Regions from separate parts of the Homo sapiens genome. Here regions 1 and 3 are each linked to region 2. The links are contacts of gene promoters, found by promoter capture Hi-C in blood cells and fetal thymus (Javierre and others, 2016). All regions are on one chromosome and are shown on one strand. Each heading gives the region's core, a stretch centred on a gene start or on the middle of the fragment in contact. The rest is flanking DNA. Distances are from core to core; before and after follow the strand shown. Region 1 overlaps TMCC1 (transmembrane and coiled-coil domain family 1). Region 2 holds the start of EFCAB12 (EF-hand calcium binding domain 12). Region 3 has its middle 39 kb from the start of PLXND1.

What was found. The method cuts DNA at HindIII sites, captures the fragments that hold promoters and counts their contacts. A CHiCAGO score of 5 or more calls a contact.
Region 1: a contact is called between a fragment that was not itself captured here and the fragment with the promoter of EFCAB12 in region 2, in 1 of 17 cell types (M2 macrophages). The highest score is 6.0, in M2 macrophages.
Region 3: a contact is called between a fragment that was not itself captured here and the fragment with the promoter of EFCAB12 in region 2, in 1 of 17 cell types (M2 macrophages). The highest score is 6.5, in M2 macrophages.

What each region holds. Positions count from the first base shown.
Region 1 is chr3:129,659,654-129,663,926 of GRCh38, reverse strand. All of the region lies in intron 5 of TMCC1 (transmembrane and coiled-coil domain family 1), which reads left to right. Among named protein-coding and RNA genes, the nearest start is that of PLXND1, 55 kb to the right of the region's middle. The HindIII fragment of the contact is 6,636 bases long and covers 1-4,273 here.
Region 2 is chr3:129,426,150-129,430,743 of GRCh38, reverse strand. It overlaps EFCAB12 (EF-hand calcium binding domain 12), which reads left to right and starts at 2,108. Exons shown (of 9, transcript NM_207307.3): 1 at 2,108-2,304. The coding sequence starts at 2,256. RefSeq lists a silencer at 1,922-1,971. The HindIII fragment of the contact is 3,479 bases long and covers 1-2,777 here.
Region 3 is chr3:129,642,889-129,647,758 of GRCh38, reverse strand. No RefSeq gene overlaps it. Among named protein-coding and RNA genes, the nearest start is that of PLXND1, 39 kb to the right of the region's middle. The HindIII fragment of the contact is 3,721 bases long and covers 1,191-4,870 here.

The DNA.
Region 1 (4,273 bases), core at 1,419-3,918, 230 kb before region 2:
AATGTAATGATATTTATTGTACATGGTTGTTGAAGTTATTAAAGGAGATAACATATATGGAAGTACCTAGTGTGATGTTTGGTTTAGAGTAGGAGCTCAACAAATGCTCCCTCCTCCTCCATTTTTTCTAGGGGAATACAAAGATCTGGGTTGTGCCAGAATGTTAGAAAGCTGTCATTACCAAGTCTGCAAGTTGCCCAGAAAGCCCCTCTAGTTTTTATTTATTTCCTGTATTATTTAGATATTTACTGTTTTCTTGTCATTAAGATAATTCATTGCCTACCCTTGAAATATTGTGGGGGACTGATATCTTTTTCCCTTTTCAGCTGAAGGCTAGTTCAGTGTTTTTTAGCTTCTTTTCAGGCTTCAACACAAAAAAGGTAACAAAAGGTAAGGAGAAAAAAATCCACTCTCCCCAATTCAGCTAGGAACCTATTCAAACTCCCACCGCAAGTCATACTCCCTACCCCAACTGTGTCTCTCTACTCTGGTCAAACACTGGCAGAAGCTATTTTGGGTCTCTGGTATGCATTTGGGAAATAGTCCATTCTTCTCCCATAGTTGCCTGTGGGTGTTTTTCCTGGGACCTAGTTCTTCCTGTTTCTCTCAATACCTGCTCCACAAGTTTCTTCAGCTATCCTGTGCTAGTGACCTATTGCCGAACTAGGGAAGCACCATTGGTTCTCAGAGATGGCTCCAAACTTTTGAGCCACACCCAAAGAGGAATGCTTCAGGTCAAAGCATTCCCAGGCTGTGTACTCACCCAGGCTCCCATTCATCAGTAATTTGACACAAAAGGCCCCTGGCTCATCTCTGATCTAGGAAGTTGACTACTGTGTTGACCTAGTGACCAAAACACTTTCAAGTTTAGTATTTATTTATGAATTATTTACCTACGACAAAATCTTGATGTGTTTAATACTTTGTAGATAGAACAGGTTTTGCTTCCAGTGGGGGATGAATTTCATCTACCAAAATATGATACTTGCTTTTAGAAAAAATAATCTTACAGTGCAAAGGCTTTCTGTTTGCTGATAGTTAAGCTCATGCCATATTTAAGTGTCCAGGTTCTCTTTGGGTTGTAACAATTTAGGAAGGACCTTGAGTAAAAATCCTTAAAATAAGATTATTAATCTCATGCTACTTGTAATCCAAGCGGAGGTGCGTGAACATCATTTGCCAGCCAAAATCACACATAGTCATGTGCTGAATAATGACATTTTGATCAACAACATATAAGACAGTTGTTTCATAAGTTTATAATGCTGTTTTTGTTTTGTTTTGTTTTTTTGAGATGGAGTCTCACTCTTGCCCAGGCTGGAGTGCAGTGGTACAGTCTCGGCTCACTGAAACCTCTGCCTCACGGTTTCAAGCAATTGTCGTGCCTCAGCTTCCAAGCAGCTGGGATTACAGGCATGCACTACCAAGCCTGTAATGCCATATTTTTAGTGTGCCTTTTCTATGTTTAGATATGTCTAGATACACAAACACTATTGTATTACAGCTGTCTGCAGTTGCCTATGGTACAGTAACTTGCTGTACAGCTTTGTAGCCTAGGAACAATTGACTGTACCATACAGCCTAAGTGTATCATAGGCTGTACTATCTAGATTTGTGTAAGTACACTGTATGGTGTTCACATAGTGATAAAATAACGTAACAACTCATTTCTCAAGATGTGTCCCCATCATTAAGTGAGGCATGACTGTTCTTGTATGATTAAGAACCTCCCACCCACCCACCATCTCCTCTGCCCCGATTTGTGTCTGGAGAGTTCTATTTAGCATCCTGTAAAGGGGTTAAAATTCCTTAAAGCAGAGTTCTAGGTTTAAAAAAAACCCAAGACTTTCACATATGAAAGTCTATAAAACATGTATCTTCCCTTTTTCTCCCCTACTGTTTGGCTTGGTGTTAATATTTAATGAGAAGATAGAGGTATTTGTACCTGGTTTCTCCATTTTAGAATTTAGACAGGAAGTAAACACTAGAAAATAAAGTGTGCTAAGAAGATTATAATATTAGTAATGGGGATAGTGGGAAGTCAGTGGGAACTAGAATACAGGTTTTTTTTTCCTTTCGTTATTTGCATTTCATTAACAATACAGAATTTTTTTGTCTTCTCTTTGAGACAAGGTCTTACTCTGTCACCCAGGCTGGAGTGCAGTGGCACAGTCTCAGCTCACTGCACCTCTGCCTTCCATGCTGAAGCAGTCCTCTCACCTCAGCCTCCCAAGTAGCTGGGATTACAGGCACATGCCACCACACCAACCTGATTTTTTTTGTATTTTTAGTAGAGACAGGGTTTCACCATGTTGCCCAAGCTGGTCTGAAACTCCTGGGGTCAAGCAATTTGCCCAGTCAAAAAGTTTTTAAAAAGACAATAATCTAATAACAGGCACAAGCCAATTGGTTCAGATCCTTATTAAACCTCACTACTAACTAGGGAGTCACTGCATCCTTCTGGGACTCCTGTTTTTGTTTGTGGGTTTTTCTGTTTGTTTGAGACAGGTTCTTGCTCTGTCACCCAGACTGGAGGGTAGTGACACAGTCTCGGCTCACTGCAGCCTTGACCTCTCGGGCTCAAGTGATCCTCCCACCTCAGCCTCCTGAGTAGCTGGGACTGCAGGTGCATGCCACTATGCCCAGCTAATTTTTGTATTTTTTGTAAAGACAGGGTTTTGCTATTTTGCCCAGATTGGTCTCCATGTTTGTCTGTTTCATCTGCTGAGATCATTCTACTTACCCAAATGCTGCTTTGCTATTTAGCTGCTTGCTAACAAAGCATTATCTCTGTGAACAATAGTTACATTTTCTTATTTGGGAAGACTCAGCTTGAGAAGAACTTGCTGTTAATTTCCCATGTAACTGTGAATAAATTGTTCAACCTCTAAAGGACTTTATTTTCTGTAAGAGCATGGTGAGGATTAGCAGTTTCTATATAACTCTTTTTGGAGATTTGAAAAAATTAGATAAAATTTACTTGAGCTGGGCACAATGGCACAGGTCTGTAGTCCCAGCTACTCAGGAGGCTGAGATGGGAGGATCACTTGAGCCCAGGAGTTTGAGGCTGCAGTGCACCATGATTATGCCTCTGAATAACCACTGTACTCCAGCATGGACAACATAGTGAGACTCTGTCTCTAAAATAAAAAAATAAAAATTACTTGAGACACCTTTCCTCACACACATACATAGGTAGATAGTTTCACCAGTACAAAGGAAAGTTTGGAAATGGCCAGTGCATGGAACTATTTGAATTATCTGGCAAACTTGAGCCAGGGAAATGGCAGGAACCTAGATGTATGAAATAAGAAGTAAAAGAGGCTTGTATCTAGGATTGAGGAGGATGGAGTGTGTGCCCAGTAAACCCATTTCTGTGATGTCATAGGAAAAACATCATAAATATACTGAAAACAGTGAAAATGTCAAAATATATAAAATTGGGAAAGTGGACATAAAGAAATGAAGACTTAAGGCCATGGACAGTGGCTCATGCCTGTAATCCCAGCACTTTGGGAGGCCAAGGCAGGAAGATCACTTCAATCCAGGAATTCAAGACCAGCCTGGGTAACATGGCGAAACCCCGTCTCTACAGAAAATACAAAAACAAAATTAACCGGGCGTGGTGGCACATGCCTGTAGTCCCAGCTGCTTGGGAGGCTGAGGTGGAAGGGTCACTAGAGCCTAGGAGATTGAGACCACAATGAGCCACGATCACGCCACTGCACTCCAACCTGGGCGACAGAGAAAACCCTGTCTCAAACAAACAACAACAACAAAGGCTTAGAGAAAAAAGTCAGAAGTGGGAATCAGTGAACAGTGGAGTAAGACTATGTGGCAGTCAACAAGCAATCTTTTTGAACTACCTCGCTAGGGATTGTTGGGGAGAACTAGGAGACTCACAAAAGAGAAAAATGAAACCAAATGTATATTTGTGATATATCTGTCTCACAGAGCACCTCTTGTGTGCCAGGTATTTGATGTCTGTCTTCTCCTTTAATCTTTGCAATTGCCCTTTGGAGTAGGTAGATTTCCTCTTTATAGAGGATGAAAAGGATCACCCAAGCTAGCGAGTTGCAGAGCTGGGATTTTAATCCAAAACCTGGACTGAGCACATGCATTAGCTGGTACAAACTGCATTATGAAAACATTTCTAGGTGCAAAATGGCAGGAGTGAAGATGGAGCACCTCTAGACATAATATGGGATGAACCAAAATCTAGTTTGAAAATGACTTCCAGAACCTTTGACAGGTTTGCAACCTTCTTATGATA
Region 2 (4,594 bases), core at 859-3,358:
CAGTGGCTTACACCTGTAATCCTAGCACTTTGGGAGGCTGAGGCAGGAGGATTGCTTGAGCCCAGGAGTTCAAAACCAGACTGGGCAACATAATGAGACCCCGTCTCTACAAAAAATTTTAAAAATTAATTGGGCATGGTGACATACACTTGTGGTCCCAGCTACTCAGAAGGCTGAGGTGGGAGAATCCCTTGAGCCCAGGAGATTGAGGCTGCAGTGAGCTATGATCACACCACTGCACTTCAGCCTGGATGACACAGCAAGACCCTGTCTTAAAAAAAATAAGTCTTAATGCCATTTTTATTACAAGTATTGTTACAGTTCAAATACCAAAGCATTTACTATTAGAAAGAAACCAAGGGAAAAAACTAGTTACTATGTCTTAATTACCAACTACCATTTTAAGGTATAATTTGAAAATTAAATTGATTGAATAAATGAAAAATAAATCAGTTGTTCAGGAAACTGCCTTTGTTGTAGGGCAGTGTGAACCGAATCAGGCTGCAGTGTGATGCAGAGGTAGTTGGTTGTTTCCACTTTAGTGAGTGTCAGTTTTTAGAAGGATAGATTTTGACCAGAGAACAGGAAAACTGGCCACACCTCCCTCTCCCCAAGGCAAACCCACTTTATAGTTTACCATCACATTTTCATTTAACAAACATCCAAGTAGCATTCACAAAGTGTAAAGCCCTGTGGTGGGGAGGGGCACAAAGATAAACAAGTTCTGTACAGACCCTCACAGAGAGAAAGAAGGGCACCTAATAATGGAAGGGAACAAAAGCGGTAAGGAGTAGGGACAAGACACCCAAAGAGGGTGGAGAGGGGCCTCTGAAACCTTGGGCCCAGCTGGGCCTGGAGGGTGGGGCGAGCTCACCAAGCTCAGGGCATCAGGTGTGGCTTTGTGGTAGGGCTGGTGGTCACATACCTTCCCCCAGCATCTCCATGGGGAGTGTGGGCCCGTGTGAATGCAGGAGGCGAGCTCTGCACCAGGGGAGCTCAGGACACAGCCAGGTTGCTCAGGCTCTAGGCCTGGCTTTTCCTGTTTCTTGCAGGTGAGGTTGCCTGACCTCTGTACCTGTTAACTTGTCTTTTAAAAATGGGATAGTGGTGTCTACCTCACACAATGATGGTAATTATGAAGTTCAGACATGTAGTGCTAAAATGGTACCTGGCTTGCAAGAGTGCTGTGTGAATGTGGCCCATGGCAACAATCTGTTTGCAAGCGTCACAAAGATAGCTTGTCTCAGCAAAGGAATAAGGGCTTAGGTGTTTCTCTTTAACTTTTTAAAAATTGAGCTAAAAGCCACCATTTAACCATTTTAAAGTGTACAGTTCAGTGGTTTAGTACATTTACAGTGTGCAGCCATCATCACTAATTCCAGAAGTTTCCATTTCTTTTTTCCACTCCAAAAAGAATCTCTCCACCTGTTAGCAGTCACTTCAATTACTCACCCCATCCCCTAGCAACCATTCATCTACTTTCCGTGTCTGTGGGTTCGTCTATGCTGAACATTTCACATAAATGGAATCATACAGCACGTGGCCTTTTGTGTCTAGCTTCTTGCTTAGCATACTGTTTTGAAGGTTTATCCATATTGTAGCATGTACTTCATTCCTTCTTATGGCCATCCTATGGATATACCTCATTTTGCTTATCAGTTGATGCACATTTCAAGGGTTTATTATTATTCTCTGGTCCTCAGGTTCTGTAACTCCAAACCATGGCACCCTGCCATAAGCGGGGCAGAACATACCCAACACCTCTATCTGGCCACAGCTCACTTTGGTTCTTCCTAACCCTCTGGAGGAGGCAGGGCCTATTTTTCCTATGAGAAAACTGAGGCCTAGAGATATGGAGACCTGCGGAAGATCCCACATTTCACGGGAAAACCGGAGACTTTCTACACTGGATTCAGGGACTACTGGGCCGAACAAAGAAATCCCGCCTTTCACCAAGCCCAGAACTGGGCGGGGCGTGGATTTGCTCGCTGCCCCTCCCAGAATTGGACGAAAACGAGGTGGGGCCAGCAGGCGCTCGGCAGGGCGGGCTCGCTCTTAACACGTGACAGCGCTCAGCCAATTGGCGCGGGGCGTCCGTAGCCACGGCAACAGGTTGCTTCTGCAGTCTGAGCTGAGCGCCTTTCGCACGACTTGGAGTTACGGTTTATCTGATACCCCGGTACCCCTACGCAAGCAAGCCCACATCGACACACATTCACACACGCCCTTCAGCACCCCCTCCCAGCACCACGACCATGGACGACGACTATGAAGCGTACCACAGTCTGTTCTTGTCGCTGCTCGGTAAGCCCCGGGAAGAAGCGTCTGCAGGGAGCGCTCAGCGCCCTAAGGACGCGTGAAAGTGGGGTGAGGGCAAAAACTCAGCCACAGATATTGTGCCGACCCCCTCTGGGTGAAGGGTTGCCATGGAGTCGGGGGCAGGTCATGTACATTTCTGAGATTTCTATCTGAGCCTAGTTGGAGGAACCAGAGGCCCGACCCATGTGACGGGAGCCCTCCAGCTCGCCCTGTTTCTCTGCAGGACATTAATGTATTCAGTACTGGAGGAGAGGCATGGAGAAGACGTCAGTCTTCAAGGTTTTGGCAGTAATGTGCTGGGGACCAAGTTCTTGGCAAAGCAATGCAGCTTCACGGGTAAAGGACAGAGATAAATGGATAATTACAGAATAAGAAGGGGTAAATGCCGGGCCCAGGGATGACACCCAGGAGTAAAAGGTGTGCTGAGGGTATGGGATGGGGAGGAACAGTTCCAAGCTTTTGGAAAAGATCTTTACACTGGAGCTTAAAGGATAAAAAGGAGTTCTCCAAGCCAAAAGGGGAAGGAAAAGCATTTCGGGCAAGGAAACAGCATGACCCAAGAGGTCTGGTGTCTCTGGAAATGAGGTGAGAGAGGTCAGAAGGGACAAGATCATAAAAGATACTGCAAGCCAGGAGATGGAGAGGCCACTGGGAGTGGCAGGACTGGATTGGGAGCAGTCAGAAAAGACCTGAGACTGAGTTGGCAGACTCAGAATGTTGGTGTGGGGAGATGAGAGCTGGGGGCTATAAAGCTTGAAGACTGAAGGTCTTCTCCATGCCGCTTCTCCAGCACTGAACACATTAATGCCCAGTGGAGAAACAGGGAGAGCTGGAGAGGCTGGCCACCTTTCCCAGGCACACAGGTCAGGGCTCTGGTCAAATGCCCAAGCTAAAGATGCTGGGAGGTGAGGGAGAAGGCCCAGGCTAGAGGGAACTACGGGACTTGGGGGCTGGTTGGTCAGGAAACACAGAAGAGGCAAATAAAGATGGTTCTCAAGTTGGCAGCTGGGGGACCTGGTAGATGGAGATGTCTTCCACAGAGATAAGAGAACGTACTCAGAGGACCCAGTTAGTGGGGGAAGGGGCACAAAGACAAATCCAGTCTTGGTTGGTTGAGTTTAAGATCCTTGTCAGTAGCTGGGCACAGTATCTCACGCCTGTAATCCCAGCACTATGGGAAGCTGAGGCAGGAGGATTGCTTGAGCCCAGGAGTTTGAGAATAGCCTGGGCAACATAGTGAGATCCCATCTCTACAAAATTGTTTTTTAAAGTTAGCCAGGCCTGGTGGGGTGGCTCACGCCTGTAATCCCAGCACTTTAGGAGGCTGAGGTGGGTGGATCACGAGGTCAGGAGATCAAGACCATCCTGGCTAACACAATGAAACCCCGTCTCTACTAAAAATACAAAAAATTAGCCGGGCATGGTGGCAGGCGCCTGTAGTCACAGCTACTCAGGAGGCTGAGGCAGGAGAATGGCATGAACCAGGGAGGTGGAGCTTGCAGTGAGCCAAGATCATGCCATTGCACTCCAGCCTGGGTGACAGAGCAAGACACCATCTCAAAAAAAAAAAAAAAAAAAAGGTTAGCTAGGCTTAATGGCATGCACCTGTAGTCCCAGCTACTCAGGAGGCTGAGCTGGGAGGATCATTTGAGCCCAGGAGTTCAAGGCTGCAGTGAGCTATGATTGAGCCACTGTACTCCAGCTTGGGGAACAGAGCAAGACCCTGTCTCAATTAAAAATAAATAATAAAAAAAGATCCCCGGCCGGGCGCCGTGGCTCACGCCTGTAATCCTAGCACTTTGGGAGGCTGAGGTGGGCGGATCACCAGGTCAGGAGATCGAGACCATCCTGGCTAACACAGTGAAACCCCATCTCTACTAAAAATACAAAAAATTAGCCGGTCGTGGTGGCAGACACCTGTAGTCCCAGGTACTCGGGAGGCTGAGGCAGGAGAATGGCGTGAACCCGGGAGGCAGAGCTTGCAGAGAGCCGAGATCGTGCCACTGCACTTTAGCCTGGGAAACAGAGCAAGAGTCCGTCTCAAAAAAAAAAAAAAAAAAAAAAACAAAAAAAAACCCTGTAAGCCATCCAAGTGGAGATGTTTTAGGAACAACTGGAGGTATAAACTTGGAGCTAATTCCAAGTCAAAAATATTGGTATGGATGTCCCCAGCATACAGAAGGTCATAGAAACATGAGAATGGAAGGGATTATTTAAAAAGAGAAGAGACCCTGGGTATAAGCCTGGAAGCAACAACCTTTAAGGAGTAATCAGG
Region 3 (4,870 bases), core at 1,802-4,301, 220 kb before region 2:
TATTTTTGAAACATTTAACATATGTAGTTCTACATGCATGTAATGCATTATTATCCAGCCTAGTGCCACCTGTAGTTTTGTTATAAAAGTAGTAATTTCTATTAGGACTTTTTCCTGATGATCTCTGGGAGGCCTCTGGAAATCCTGAAGTCCTAAACTTGCCTTTGACCTGGTACCAAGCAGAGACATGATGATTCGGTCCTTCACAGCTCCAGTCTGAATGTCGAGAGCTTTAGTCCCACTTCTGGCTTGCTAGCTGTGTGCCTCTTACCCCATGTATAAACTAGTGATACCACACCACCCAACTTGATCCTACAGGTGGATGTTGTGAGAGCAAGGGATACATCTTGTGAAATCTTTGAAAATTCCCCTTAAAATATGGGCCAGGCTGCCATGTACAGATATGCAGGTTGTATATTGCCCAACCCTGCGGGGGCTTCATAAGTCTGATAAACTGTGAACAACATCCAGGAGTTGTGTAGTGCATACGGGACACATAGAGCTGCCATGATAATGGGCGATACATAATTTCAAAACCTGCTTTATTTTTATCCTTTAAAAACCTTGGAGACTTACTGAATGCCAGTAAAAACTGGGTGTGGTGGCTCTCACACCTGTAATCCCAAAACTTTGGGAGGACAAGGTTGGAGGATTACTTGAGGCCAGGAGTTTGATACCAACCTGGGCAACATAGTGAGACCCCTATCTCTACAAAAAATAAATTTAGCTAGGTGTGGTGGCAGGCACCTGTAGTCCCAGCTACTCAGGAGGCTGAGGTGATAGCATCACTCGAGCCCAGGAGTTTGAGATTACAGTGAGCTATGATTACACCACTGCACTCTAGGCTAGGTGGCAGAGCGAGACCCTGTCTCAAAAAAAGAAAACTTCAGAGAGTGGAAGGCAGATGACATAAATTTGAGAAGCTGTGGTGTAGAAAACAGATTGGGGAGGCAGAGGAAGGTATGGTCAACTAGAAATGCATGCTTCACCTGAAGGGTTCAAATATACTTAAATCCTATGGTCCAAACTAAACATTTAGCTGACTTGTAGCCCCAAGTCTATAGTGAAGAATAGCTAACGTTTATTGAGTATTTACTGAGTGCCAGACATCATTCAGTTTTATCAGTCAATTCTCCCCCACAGTCTTATGCAGGAGATATCCTCATTGTTTAGGTAAGAACTCTGAAGCTTGGGTTAAATGGCTTGCCCAAAATTAATGTTAGGAAATGGTAAATTAATGCAATGGAAAATAGGTCTATGCGACATATATAACAAAAAATGAGCGTCCACAATATTTAAGACTACAAATCAATAATCATCTTTCCTATTGGTAACAGCTCAATAGAAAAGACAGGCAATAGTTATAAACAGAGAGCTTATAGAAAAATGACCAATAAGCGGCTGGGCGCGGTGGCTCACGCCTGTAATCCCAGCACTTTGGGAGGCTGAGGCGGGTGGATCACGAGGTCAGGAGATCGAGACCATCCTGGCTAACATGGTGAAACCCCGTCTCTACTAAAAAGACAAAAAAATTAGCCGGGCATGGTGGTAGGCGCCTGTAGTCCCAGCTACTCGGGAGGCTGAGGCAGGAGAATGGCGTGAACCCAGGAAGCGGAGCTTGCAGTGAGCCGAGATGGTGTCGCTGCACTCCAGCAGCCAGGGCGACAGAGCGAGACTCTGTCTCAAAAAAAAAAAAAGAAAAGAAAAATGACCAATAAGCATACCAGAAAATTGTTCAGCCTCCTGTATAATCAGTGCATTAAGATTTAAAAAGCCAACTGTGGAACAATATATTGTCTCCCATTTATGTTGAGAATATGTATATTTGTGTAAATATATGCATGTGGATGTGTAAAAACTTTGCATTAAACTTTCCCGTTATTTTGGGAAGGGAGAGGGAGGAACAGTGGTTAAGCAGCACTTTCATGCTTGGCTTCTATAAAGTATGAATCTCTTTGAAGAAAATGTATTTGTGTATTTTTTAAATTAAATATATCAAAAACTTAAAAATAGGTCCAGTGAGAAGTGAAAAAAGAATTGATAGTGTTCCTAATGACAGATCATACTAGACCATCTTTTGCCTCCAGATTGCCTTAGAGGGGGCTCTAGACCAAGTTTGGGCCACCCCTTGAGCTTTCTTCCAGCCCTGGATTTCTAGGCTTGGGGGTCACATAGATGTCCCGCTGCCAGAAGCCCTGCGGGCTGAGAAGGAGGAGCACGTGCAGAGGTGACAGCAGCAGCTGGTACCTCCTATTTAGCCAGCAGCACTTAAGAGCCACTCTATACAAGACTGGGCTGTGGAAAAAGGAACTTAGTAGAATGAAATACATGTGGTAAAGAGGCAGAAGACGTGTGGGAGCAAAGAGGAGGAAGCAATTCTAACAGAGCAATAGGGAAAGGCTCAACGGAGGAGGCCATGGTATCTGGACTGAAAGATGGTGGCTTTATGATGAGCAGAAATAGGTGAGGGGGCATTTCTATTGGAGGTATTAGCAAAACCACAGAGGTGAAAACGGCCTAGGTGAGCAGTTCAAGCAATGGATAAGGAGCCTTAAGTGACTGGTAGGGTGCCTGAAAGAATGTGTGAGAATCATATGTGGGGGCCAAGTTGCAAGAAATCTTGAATACCACGCTAAAGGTTTACCTTGTGACTACAAGAGAAGCCATTACAGGTGTTGAAAGGTGACCCAGCCTTCTGTTTAATTACAGCCCTTTGAGAAGAAACCAGAAACCTGTTTTTCAGGTCATCCCAATCAGTTGGGTGTTTGAGGAATGGTGTCCAAGGTATTTGGTCTTTTGCCTATTGATCCTGTAAGTAGAGGCTCTTCACAGTTTTTTGATAAGTGGAAAAAGGGTGTAGGCAACTCAGAGTTCAGTTCTTTTAAAAAAAAAAAATCCCTGGGCCAGGCGCTGTGGCTCACGCCTGTAATCCCAGCACTTTGGGAGGCCGAGGCAGGCGGATCACGAGGTCAAGAGATGGAGACCATTCTGGCCAACATGGTGAAACCCCGTCACTACTAAAAGTACAAAAATTAGCTGGGCGTGGTGGCACTCACCTGTAGTCCCAGCTACTTGGGAGGCTGAGGCAGGAGAATTGCTTGAACCTGGGAGGCGGAGGTTGCAGTGAGCCGAGATCACGCCACTGCACTCCAGCCTAGCGACAGAGCAAGACTCCATCTCAAAAAAAAAAAAAAAATCCCTGTCACCTTTGGTATTACAATCCTTAAATCCCAGAGCAAGAGTACTTGACAAAATTTATTCATGCTTCTGTCTTACTGAATGTTTAAGCTGTTCAAGAGAATATTCTTTATCTGTTGAAAGAATTCAGTTCAATAGTTTTCGAGACTGTATTAAAAGGTGCAACAAATCATGATGAAAATGAATTATGTTAAATTTTGCCTAAAGCTGCTTCTGTACATATCTTAAGTTTGGCCTAAAGGTTTCTCCATACATAGGGAACTGTAACCTAGCCAGGCATAAGCAGATTGGAACCTACTCTTGTAACGAGTAGCCAAGTCTCCGCCAATCACAGCAGCCGAACTTCAGTCAACCACAGGCAGCCAACTGTTGAAATAAGGTACAAGCCCAGAATAAGTTTAACAAGAATAAGTGAGGTCTGCATACCTCACTTCAATTTTTTATACACCACTTGCCTTTTTCTGTCCATAAATGTTACTTAGCCATATGGCAGCCCCAGACTCTCACTGACCTGTCCTGGTCTTAGGGGCTGCCCAATTCATGAATCATTCTTTGTTAAATTTAACTTGTCTAAAGTTTTTATTTTAAGTATTTTATTTTATTTTATTTCATCTCATTTTATTTTGACAGAGTCTTGCTCTGTCGCCCAGGCTGGAGTGCAGTGGCACGATCTTGGCTCACTGCAACCTCCATCTCCCAGGTTCAAGTGATTCTCCTGCCTCAGCCTCCCAAGTAGCTGGGATTATAGGCCTGTGCCACCACACCGAGCTAATTTTTTGTATTTTTTAGTAGAGACGGGGTTTCACCATGTTGGCCAGGCTGGTCGCTGGTCTCGAACTCCTGACCTCAGGTGATCCACCCACCTCAGCCTCCCAAAGTGCTGGGATTATAGGCATGAACCACCGCGCCTGGCCTCTTTTAAGAATTTTAATAACCACTTTACCTTAACAGAAGGTTGTGAAGGTTATGAGGATTAAATGAAAATTGTACAGAGCCTAGCCCAGCATCTGGCAAGAGAAAGTGCTATACCATGATCTTGATTATTAGTAGACTGAGAATTCCTAGAGGACAGGCACCTGTGTCACTCATCTAACTCTCTTCAGAATATAGCACATCTCCCATTCTTACCAACGAAGAGCCCAGTAGCCAGAATTTGGGCTATCCTCAGCCAGCCCTGGCTCTTAAGTTGGTTTGGGGAACCAAAAAATCAGTATGTGTCAGAGAATGGGCTGGCCATGGGGACAAGAAAAGAATATCGTGTCCATAAGAACAAAAACTCGCAAATGGGGCCAGGCACAGTGGCTCACGCCTGTAATCTCAACACTTTGGGAGGCCAAGGCAGGTGGATTGGTTGAGGCCCAGAGTTCAAGACTAGCCTGGGCAACATAGACTCTATCTCAAAAACAAAACAAAACGAAACAAAAAAGCCTTTGCGAGTGAATACACATATAATTGGCTGATAATCTATTTTACTTATAATTTCTTAACCAGCACAGTGACAGGGACGTTGTCAGTTTGTGGCTATGTCCTAAGTGCCTGAAACAATGCCTGGCCCAGAATTGGTGCTCATTAAAAAGTGGAACTTAAAAAATTGCTATTAATTGAGTCCCTATTCTGTGCCAGGCACAGTGCCACTTGTTATGCTTCTGATTGTTTCAACCGTTCTAAAGAG